Regions from separate parts of the Homo sapiens genome. Here all the other regions are linked to region 1. The links are contacts of gene promoters, found by promoter capture Hi-C in blood cells and fetal thymus (Javierre and others, 2016). All regions are on one chromosome and are shown on one strand. The core of a region is centred on a gene start or on the middle of the fragment in contact, and the rest is flanking DNA. Distances in the headings are between cores, read along the strand shown.

Region 1 (2,700 bases), core at 56-2,555:
TGCTTGGAACTAGCATGTTTGTTTTGGAATTACACTAACGTTTTGTAAACACTGTCTCACGGTAAAGCTAATGACTTTACCTCTTTCTGAAACAGTTTTAGGGAAGAAGGCACCATATATTACGGTGAAACTGGGTCTTAGTTTACATAGCGATTATTTAAAAAATTCACTTCCACTGTGCATTACAAGAATTAAAGCCGTTTAAAAAACTCAACCAAAGCCCAATGACAATGTATTACTCTAGGAAAAGTGTGTCCTTTGGGTTCTAAGGCATTAAATTGGAATTTAATATTAAAATAGAATTCAACGGCTAAGTATCCAGTTTCCCCCAATCACTTAATTTTTCAAAACCCAGAAAGGGCCTGTTTGCGAGTATTGTGAAAACCTGTGGAAAGAGAGGCTTTGGAGGGGAACGGTCGAATTAAAATAAATGCAGAGAGCAAAGAGAACTCCGAGTTCTTTGAACTCCCCCAGGCTGAACAGGACGAGAAGGAACCCTACCTGCCAGCGGCCATAGGTGAGGAGGACCATAGAAATGGGGATGGCGGTGCCGGACATGGCATGGGTGGAGGGCATGCTGTACTCAGAGTTGTAGAAGACCTCCAACTTGACCACGGGCGGCGAGGCGGGCCTCGGCCAGCGGATGATGTCCTTGGTGCACTGGCCCAGGTACATGACCAGCACCCAGATGACCACGAGCCTCCGGCCCACCAGAGGGTCCAGGTTCCAGATCCAGAAGGGGAAGAACAGGATGTAGAAGAGTTCGTTGCCCAGCTCCGTGCCGAAGCAGAACAGGCAGTAGAGCGGCCAGTTGCTCACGCGGGCCAGCTGGCCCTCCTCGCCCGTCAGCGAGTTGCGGCGCAGAGCGCCCGCGCGCCGCGGCGAGGCCGGGCCCAGCTCGGCCGCCAGCCCGTTCCGCACGCCGTTGGGGGCGCCGCCGCCGTCCGGCTTGGCCGGGCACTGATTGCGGTCGCTCCCGGGAGGCTGGGGGCCTCCAGGCGCCCCTGGCTGCCGCCCTCGCAGTCGAGGGTCTCCGGCGAGAGGCGCCTCCGCTTTCTCATCCTCCCTCCGGTCTGCTGAGCGGCGCGGCGGCGCTTCCACCCCGCACAGCCGCTGGAAACGGGCCACTTTCTGCGGGTCCTGCAGACGGCCAACCAGCTGGGCCAGGCGCTGCCTCAGCGACATGATAACGGAACCCCCGGGAAGGCGGGCCGGCCTCCGGCGCAGCCCCGAACTGTCCCCGCGCTCCTGGCCAGCGGCAGCGGAACCGGCACAGCGCTCTACCCTCCGGAGTCTGCCGGGTGACGGCGCCACAGGCCGCGCGCCCCCGCCCCGCGCGCGCCGCGCCCCGCCCCGCCCAGCCCCGCCCCCACCCGGGCTCCCTGAGGGGCCGGGCCGCGCGGGTCCGCCCTGAGCGCATCCGGCCGTGGCTTGGCGCTGAGGATCGGCGGGCGGCCGCTTTGAGGTCCCGGGTAATATCCACCAGCAGGCGTCGCGGCGTACGTCTGGTGGGACGCGGCGTGTCCCCCTGCTCCACCTTCAGCCCTTCTTCTCCGCGGGCTAGTGTCGCCGGATTCCCTCAGCCAGAAGTTGACTTAAAGAGGCCACGATCCCGGTGCCAGCTTGCGCAATGCCTGTGACCAAGCAGCCGGGCATCCTGCTGGCACAGAACCAAATGGTGAATGATCAATGAAGGCGAAGCAACTACCATGAGTTCGGAATCATTCGACTCAAGTAATTAACAAGTAATTACAGAGCTGTCCCAGGCGACTGATGTTCGGAAAACCATGTGCCAATTGACCAGTGGTGACAAGACTACATGTAGATCCCAAGACAGGGCCAGGTGATATTAACAGGTGTGGTCTGCAAAAGAAAAGCCAGCCACCTACAAATTCAAAATACTGTGTCATTTATCAAATATTTTGGTATATGTTAAGGGAGCACAGGTGTTCTTAAGTGTAAAATTTCCTTTTCCTAGATTCTAATACCTAGAGGGCTTGCACAGAATAAATGTAGAGAATGAATGCAGTGTATAGATTTTTGAGTTTGGTAACGTTAATTTAGACGCTTAACTTCCGTGTCTCACAAGTTACCAACTTGACTTCTAGCTAGAGCAGTTTATAAGGTCTCTGAACTCCTCAGGTCAGGTGAATGTCTTTTATATATACCTAGAGAGAGAGAGATGAGACAGGGTCTCGCTATATTGCCCAGGCTGGTCTCCAACTCCTGGGCTGAAGTGATTCTCCTGCCTTGGCCTCTCAAAGTGCTGTGTTTACAGGCGTGAGCCACCACACCCGCCATGATCAGGTGAATGTCTGTAATTAAAGAATGTGAACTACTTCCAAGAAACAGGCTTGAAATTGTCCCATGCCCTTAAAACAGTAGAAATACTTTCCTTCAGGCGTGGTAGTTCATGCCTATAATCTCAGCACTTTGGGAGGTCGAGGAGGGAGGATGGCTTGAGTCCAGGAGTTTGACAACAGCCTGGGCAACATAGGGAGATCCCACCTCTACAAAAAATGAACAAAATTAGCCGGGCAGGGCTGGGCACAGTGGCTCACGCCTGTAACCCCAACACTTTGGGAGGCCAAGGCGGGCGGATCACCTGAGGTCGGGAGTTCAAGACCGGCCTGACCCACATGGAGAAACCCCGTCTCCACTAAAAATACAAAATTAGCCGGGCGGGGTGGTGCATGCCTG
Region 2 (2,700 bases), core at 28-2,527, 570 kb after region 1:
CTGTCATGAGATGCTGTTCTTATTTGTTGCATAAATGGAGGCATGTCTGTCCTGTAGAGCCCAGATACTGTTGAATGAAATGTTGTCAATTTCTTGTCTAGGAATGACCACCTATGAGCATATTTATGTAACTTATTCTTTATTGATCTGCGTTGGACTGGGGCCCTCAGAGGGTAACAAGGACATAAGCAGCAAGACAGACCCAACCTGATACCTGGGCACCAGGACCATGAGACAAGGTTGCTCTGACCTGCAGTTTAAATGAACCACCTGAGCAAGCAGCACCTGCAGCCAACTCTTTCTAAATCACACTCATGTGTTTCAGTCTTGATCTTTGCTATTTGTAAACAAACAGGTAAAAAATAACTTTTTGTCCTGTCCACTGCCCCTCAAAGGTACTTAAATTCCACACAAATCCCTTGCATACCTTAAGTTTCTAATTTTCTATGCATTTGAAATCAAACATGAAGCATACACATTTTTGTCCTTACTTCCAACTCTGCAGCAATTCTCTTGAGCTAGAAGAGAAACTAGCCCCTAGAGGTCATTGGCATGAATGTGAACACCCAGTTAAGAAAAAAAAAAAAAAAAGTTATAGGACTGTTAGAAATGGCGGCAAATTGTAATATGCAATTTCACAAATGACTCAAATGCAATTCTGAAAATGCAGCTTCCTTACATTTTCTGGCTCAGAAGATATTAATAAGTCAGCCAGTGTAATATTCCCTGAAATGAGATAAAAAAAAAAAAGGTACAGACAGACATGGCTTGAGACCATAGATAAGACTGTCTGATTTCATAGTTTAATATTTCAAAAAATATTTCAAAAATTTTGACTAAAGTTTTTTCTACATCTTCTTGTAAATGTATCTAACATTTTCAATTTCTTTGTTCATATCATGGAAAGTTACTATAACTGCCTCATATTGTCCTTTAGACCCATAGCAACTAACTCTCCAGTGATGCTCATTACAGAAATAGCTTTTTTTTTTTTTTTTTTTGAGACGGAGTCTCGCTCTGTCGCCCAGGCTAGAGTGCAGTGGCACAATCTTCCGCCTCAGCCCCCCAAGTAGCTGAGACTACAGGCACCCACCACCACACCCGGCTAATTTTTTTGTATTTTTTTAGTAGAGACAGGGTTTCACCGTGGTAGCCAGGATGGTCTCGATCTCCTGGCCTCCTGATCCACCCGCCTCCGCCTCCCAAAGTGCTGGGATTACAGGCGTCAGCCACCGCGCCCAGCCCAGAAATGGCTTTTATAAAAATACAGACTTGATTTTTTGTGCACAGAGCGTGCTTCTTTCACATATGTCACCGTTTGATCTGATGAACCTAACCAGAGAAAGGAATCGTTTTCTTCTCTCTTATTCAGTCCTCTCCTTTGCTGGGAATTATAAACAGAAAATGAACTTCTCCAAGTAGTTCATGCAGCTACTTAAGGATCACCAATGCTGTTCCATGGGCCAGGATCTCTGCATTCTCCTCTCCCCTCACATTGTTTCTCTTCCTTTTACATTCTCACATATTATTTTTCTACTGTCCAGGCAGTTTAGCTAACTAGCTTCTTAATGGTTCTGCTCATAGTCAAGTCAAGTGCTTCCTCAGCCTGCTCCACGTATTCTACCACGCCACCAGCCACAGCTTACTAGGAGGACTGCTGTCCTGGCATGACACTGGCTTCTAGTTAACAAAGAACTTGCATGGCCACATCATGCTGCATGTTCACACCAACCCTACAATGTTGATTTTATCACCAATTTGCTGACAAGGAAACTTGAGGGTGTTTTCCAGATTTGCACTCATAGGAACACAGGTCATCTGACTTCCATACAGATGCACACCTGCCTCCTTGCAAGAGATTCAGTTTCTGTGTTCCTAGCACTGAGGCTGTCAACATCTGCCATATTGCACTGCTACTATCTCACAGGCCTTTCAACCGGACCCCATCCCTTCCTTCTCATCCTACCTCTACCCTCCCTCATCTCAGTCTAAAATACCACTCAAGGGAGAAAATTCTTAACAACTTCTTTAGTTATTTTCACCTTAAAATTTTTCTGACAGGCTGGGTGTGGTGGCTCATGCCTGCAATCCCAGCACTTTGGGAGGCCAAGATGAGAGGATCGCTCGAGCCCAGGAGTTCAAGACCAGCCTGGACAACATGGCGAAAACCCATCTCTACAAAAAATACAACAATTAACCAGGTGTGGTGGCACCTGTAGTCCCAGCTACTCGGGAGGCTGAGGCTGGAGGATCACTTGAGCCTGGGAGGTTGAGGCTTCAGTGAGCTAAGATCACACCACTGCACTTCAGCCTGGGTGATAGATACCTCATCTTTAAAAAAAAAAATTTTTTTCTGACACTCAGCATTACATTTATTCTTTCATAAAACACTCTTCTTTGAGACTGCATCTTGCCCTCATGCATTTATCTCTTTGTGACAATGCTCCCTTAATGCTTGCAATACCTTAAGTGTCTACCTGAGACACAAGGAAATATGAGGGTGTTTGCTCACAGATGATGAGGAGGAGGCTATAACTACCATTCATTCAGCAGTTGCTTGTAAATCCTTTGCCTGCACTATTTAATTTTATCCTTAAAACAATCCAATGAGGTGGGTACTCCTTATGTCTCCATTTTACAGATGAGAAGATTAAGACTCAGAGAATTTAAGGAACTTGCCCAACAGCTAGTAAGTAGCAG
Region 3 (2,700 bases), core at 1-2,500, 740 kb after region 1:
TGCCGGTGGCTTTTTTCCTTCTTTATCCCTCTTTGAGAAATGTGATTTTGGGTTTCTGGCCATTACATTATAATTCTGCAGACAGCCTGAAGCTGGGTTATCTGTTCCACGCCCCCGGCATTTTCCTTTTTGAGTACTTTATCCTGCGCTCTGTCTCCTGCCATAAGGGGCGTCAAGCCAGAATTCGAGATTCCTTCCTCCAGGAGGAAGCTTCGTGGTCCGTATCTGGTGCTGGGAAAGATGCATTGCTTTCCTCGGGTACTGGCTGCTCAAGGGAAAAAGGAAAGGGGGTGTTTTCTGTGACATGAGACTTGCAATTCCATCAGGAAATGAGCACAGGGACTTTAAGATTTCCTGAGGCGATAAAGCTACCCTTGCTGGTTAAGAGCGAATCATTTGCAGTCTGACATTCTGCAAAGTTTTATTGTCTACAGACTGCATTATTTTCCCTCGTTAGTTAAGTTTCTGTTTGGGTATTCGTTTTATTTCTAGTATGTGAGATACATTCAAGTGAGCTTCTCAAACGATTGTCTTTGCGCAATCCAGGTTAGTTTCCAATGACAGACTCCTAAACATCTCATTTCAATATTTCTATTATGTGGTAATACAGCCTCTGCTTAACAAAAATGCTCAGGTGCTGAAAACTCACAAGAGGTGAGAAGATTTAAACAGTTATCAGCTTAGGTTCTAGTGCTCACTGAAACATTGTGAGGAGAAACACTGTCAAATGTTCATATTTTAGTTCCGTCATTGTTCTAGAATGACTTTATCTTTCTGTTAGAGGCACACAGTATGAAACACCCAACCTAAGATAATATTTACTTAGATCATAAACTGATTTTCAGGGTTCCAGTTCCTTCTACAGTTCATAAAATTATGGGTTACCCAAATGAAACTTCAGTGAAGGATTTACATAAAAACAATATAAAGAATGAGTCCCTTTGCTTATTTTAGGGCATCCACCCACTAAAATTCATAGGATCTTTGTTGGATAATCACCTCCCATTTCCATTCTTTGGTGCCATCATACCATTCTAAGGATTAAATTTTCAATACACCTTTATATTATCTAAGTTTGCCAATTGCATAGTTTGCCAACTTATTTTTGGCTTTTAAATTAGTTCCTGAACCAAAAAAATAAAATATAAAGAATTTCAAAAGCTTGGTTTTCAAATGACAAGAACTCAGTCTACTCGTGGTTCAATTATGAGTTGATAAGTGCCTTATGGTTAAATGACCATTAATCAATTTTTTAATTTTTTTACTAATGAAACACTGCAGATTAGTATCCCCAAACAATTCATTTTCTGACGAAACTCTTAAAGCCCAGTTTCAGAACATAAGCTTTAAGCAACAAGCAATCTTGTGTTAATCTGAGCTCTGTTACAGCTCTGCCGTAATCTCAGCCAAATTGCTTCATCTGTACGTGGTGATACCACCATCTTTGTAATATTGTGGTGAGGATTAGAGATGTATGTAAAAGTGCATGCACTGCCTAATACCCAAGAATTGCTCAATAAATGTCAGCTATTACTACTCTTACTGACTTCCAACTATGTGCAGATTATGGTGGAAACATGTGATACAGCAGATACAGTACTTAAATGAAAATGTCAAAATTGTACAACTAATTTAAGAGTGGGAAATGACAGTAATGCTAAATTTTCCTAAGAATATGTATGAAAAATAGCACTTCCTTGATGGAACATACATTTTTAGAACAGAAACCTTATGTTATAATGGTAAAACTAGAGAGTCAAAGTCTCTAGTTCTAACTCTGGCTATGACCTTATCTAGTTGCATGGCTTTTGACAAGACAACTGCTCCCCTCTGGAGTTCAGTTTTGTCATCTGGCTGGATTTGAGTAATCTCAAATAATCTCTAAAGTCCTTTGCAGCTTTAAAATTATCTATTGAGTGTGATAAAGATTACATCAGCTTGCTTTTCATCCTGCACTTCATTTTTGGTTCTTGTTGTTTGCTTAACTTGCACTTTAGAGTCATAAGCAATTCACACAGACAACACAACTAAAGAACTGATAATATCAGACTTGCAGGGTAATCCAAAATGAAGTTTCAACAAGGAGGATAAAACAAAATAGAATCACACTGAACTCTTTAATAGGGCCAAAGTAAACCCCAATGTTTATTCTCCAGTCATTTCATTAAGTTATTATATGGAAAATATGCCTGGTAGAATCTTATACATTCACTGAAATAGTCTCCACAGAAAATAATAGGCTCATAGTGAAATAAAATACCACTTTCTTTTCTCTCATCAGGTTGATCTTTAAATAAAGCAAAAATTTATCCAAAGAAGGGCTTTCATCAAGAAATTAAAGAGAGAAATTACAAGCCATAGAGAAACTGGGCATTTCTATACTAGAGAAACCACCTAAAACAACTGTATGGAGTAAGATGAAAGGTATGAATATGCCTGGAAGAAATTTTACCTAGTGTGACATTTTTGCTCATCTTTTTGTCACAAAAGGCTGCTAAGGAAGAGAGAATACAGTTTTCTAGAGAATAAGAGTGCAGTGTAAAAATGGAAACCACAATTTCAGAAATTCATGTAGAAAACAAGGATGAGAAGAGATCAGCAGAAGGTAGTCCTGGGGCTGAAAGGCAGAAGGAAAAGGCATCCATGCTTTGCTTCAAGAGAAGAAAGAAAGCAGCCAAAGCACTGAAGCCCAAAGCTGGC
Region 4 (2,700 bases), core at 1-2,500, 690 kb after region 1:
AAGCACCATTTCCTGAATCCTGGTCTTGACATGTGGTGGCATAGAGGAGGTACATTGTGGGCCATAAATAAATGGACTTGATTGGCAGAAGGGCCTGTCTACTAAGGATGTTACCTAAATTTTCTCTCAATTTTCTCAGCAACTCTGTGAAGTAGGTACTGTTATTGTTCAACTGCTAAGAAAATAGGCTCAGGCCAGGCACAGCGGCTCATGCCTGTTATCCCAGCACTTTGGGAGGCTGAAGCGGGCTGAGATCACCTGAGGTCAGGAATTCGAGACCAGCCTGGTCAACATGGTGAAACCCTGTCTCTACTAAAAATACAAAAAAATTATCCAGGCAGGGTGGCATGCACCTGTATTCCCAGCTATTCGGGAGGCAGAGGTGGGAGGATTGATTGAACCTGGGAGGCGGAGGTTGCAGTGAGCCGAGATCACCTGACTGCACTCCAGCCTGGGCAACAGAGCGAGACTCTGTCTCTAAAATAAACAAACAAACAAACAAACAAACAAAACCAGCTCAGAGAGAGCAAGTAACTTGTCTGGGAGACAACGGAACCAAGATTTGAATTCAGAGTTATCTGAGTTCAAAGCAATTTATTTTAACCTATACAGTAATAAAAATTTGGATAGTTTAAAAGGATATGAAGTGAAAAGCCCCACCTCCCCCCACCCCCAAAATGGGCACTGAATCTCCACAGTAGTTCCAGGACTCGACAGATGGCTGGAAATGGGTCTCCTGCACAGTTGGCCATATTGTCCCGTTACTAGTTAGCACCTTGCTATTTTAATTTCATTATGAATACTTTTAGCAGAGGTTATTTTTTACAAGGAAATGGGTCCTGGTAAAAAGAAGTAGGTCAGAAGTTTCAAGTGGAAAGTTTTGGCCAGCATAAATGAAAATTTTCTGTGGTTGGCAAGAAAAGGTCAAAGGTCAAGCTTTGACAGTTCATTTCTACAGTTAAATGTATATTCTTCAGCATATTTAGCAAACATTGTAGTGCCTTGCTTAAAAGAAAAAAATCCCACGAGGACAGCACCTGAAGGCCTCCCACTGCCTCTTATTGAGTGATGCTACCATTTGCCCTGATGCAGCTTTAACTCTTCTGCTGAATCCTAAAAAGTATAGAAAGTTACCTTTTAAAACTTTGAGGTCTTTACTTCTAGATGTTCATGATGTTCACATTATTATAAGAGTTTATCTTTTTCTGAAAAAAAATGATTTTATGCGAGAAGCACAATTTAAACCCTTGCTGCTTTGAGCAAGGGTCCACTGCCCTCAGCCTTGACTGCCCTGAGGACTCTGATGAAGTCGTCAACTTCTCTCTGCTTTCTTCTTTGTGGACAGCTCATTTTCGGGCTCCACTTTGTGGCCACAAACACCTACAGCCTGGTTCCATCCTCATGCCTAACAGTCATGGGATTGGATCTTATCAGCTGAGGGAAGAAATATGGTCCCCTGTCCACTACTGGGTACTCACTCAGGCTGTCTTTAGTAGAGTATGAGTCAGCCCTGAAAAGGACATTGGTATATTGCCAGAAAAATGGATGCTGTGATAGCAAAAAGAAAGCTTTGCTGCCACAGTTCAATTTCCCCTTTATCACTTCCCTGCAAGTAACCCTATGGCTCAGGCCCTAAGCCAAAAGAGAAATTTGGGTGAGGAACTGTATAAACAAACTTACCAAAGTTAGAAGGAATTACCGATACTAATCTAATTTCTTACACATCTCTCCAGCCTGTTACATACACCCTATTTGTTTTAACTTTTTTTCCCCATGTAATTTAATCTGATGTCTTCTTCCGTATGGCTGATTAGCTGTATGTCAGGGTTTCTTTTTTCTTTGAGTGTAGGTTTTCTTCCCACTCCCCTATGACTCAATGAATGATCTTGGCTTAAGCTGCTCCCAAAAACCCACGGCCAGAAGGACACAAGTACAAGTCCCAATTTATAGCTGAAACCCTAGAGTTGAGAATATTATTGCCAAAGAAGGAATGCTTTTAGGAAGGTTTCTGTTTGATGTTAAGAACCTGTTTTTGTGCACTTATTCTAATTTCTCCACGTGGCATGCGAAGGAGGGCAGCTTCTATCCTCCAACTCTGATGCAGGCTGGCTTTTCTTTCAGGGGTGCCGATTGCCGGAAGGCATGCTGTGGTGGTTGGGCGCAGTAAAATAGTTGGGGCCCCGATGCATGACTTGCTTCTGTGGAACAATGCCACAGTGACCACCTGCCACTCCAAGACTGCCCATCTGGATGAGGAGGTAGGGTGTCCAGAGGAGAGGTAAAGGTGTTACGGTGGGGAGGGTGGGTGTGCCAGAGGCTGCCATGTCCTTTACACTCATGACCTCATTTAACCCCATCATCTCATTTTTACAAGATGAAAAAACAAATTCAAATTAAAGGCTGAGTGGGGTGGCTGACACCTGTAGTCCCAACACTTTGGGAGTCTGAGGCAGGAGGATTGTTTGAGCCCAAGAGTTTTTGAGACCAGCCTGGGCAACATAGTGAGACGCTTTCTCTGCAAAAAAAATTAAAAATTAGCCAGATGGGGTGGGCACATGCCTGTAGTCCCAGCTACTCGGGAGGTTGAGGCAAGAGGATTGCTTGAGCCCAGGAGGTCGAGGCTGCAGTAAGCTACGATCACACCACTGCACTCCAGCCTGGGCTACAGAGCAAGACCCTGTCTCAAAAAAAAAAAAAAAT

What was found. Contacts are between HindIII fragments. The CHiCAGO score rates a contact against its expected background, and 5 or more counts as called.
Region 2: a contact is called between a fragment that was not itself captured here and the fragment with the promoter of SGPP1 in region 1, in 2 of 17 cell types (megakaryocytes and fetal thymus). The highest score is 5.9, in megakaryocytes.
Region 3: a fragment that was not itself captured here is called in contact with the fragment with the promoter of SGPP1 in region 1 in 2 of 17 cell types (M2 macrophages and M1 macrophages); the score reaches 7.3 in M2 macrophages.
Region 4: a contact is called between a fragment that was not itself captured here and the fragment with the promoter of SGPP1 in region 1, in 1 of 17 cell types (M0 macrophages). The highest score is 5.1, in M0 macrophages.

Annotation. Positions count from the first base shown.
Region 1 is chr14:63,726,760-63,729,459 of GRCh38, forward strand. SGPP1 (sphingosine-1-phosphate phosphatase 1) reads right to left here and starts at 1,306. Exons shown (of 3, transcript NM_030791.4): 1 at 502-1,306. The coding sequence starts at 1,185. RefSeq lists enhancers at 452-953, 598-647, 1,608-1,797 and silencers at 908-1,007, 1,298-1,397. The HindIII fragment of the contact is 15,620 bases long and covers 1-2,700 here.
Region 2 is chr14:64,298,418-64,301,117 of GRCh38, forward strand. It overlaps a transcript of ESR2 not described here. Among named protein-coding and RNA genes, the nearest start is that of ESR2, 5.4 kb to the left of the region's middle. The HindIII fragment of the contact is 3,583 bases long and covers 1-2,700 here.
Region 3 is chr14:64,465,851-64,468,550 of GRCh38, forward strand. It overlaps AKAP5 (A-kinase anchoring protein 5), which reads left to right. Exons shown (of 2, transcript NM_004857.3): 2 at 2,282-2,700. The coding sequence starts at 2,545. It also overlaps a transcript of ZBTB25 not described here. Among named protein-coding and RNA genes, the nearest start is that of AKAP5, 1.7 kb to the left of the region's middle. The HindIII fragment of the contact is 183 bases long and covers 1,160-1,342 here.
Region 4 is chr14:64,415,767-64,418,466 of GRCh38, forward strand. It overlaps MTHFD1 (methylenetetrahydrofolate dehydrogenase, cyclohydrolase and formyltetrahydrofolate synthetase 1), which reads left to right. Exons shown (of 28, transcript NM_005956.4): 7 at 2,122-2,258. Among named protein-coding and RNA genes, the nearest start is that of MTHFD1, 29 kb to the left of the region's middle. The HindIII fragment of the contact is 632 bases long and covers 935-1,566 here.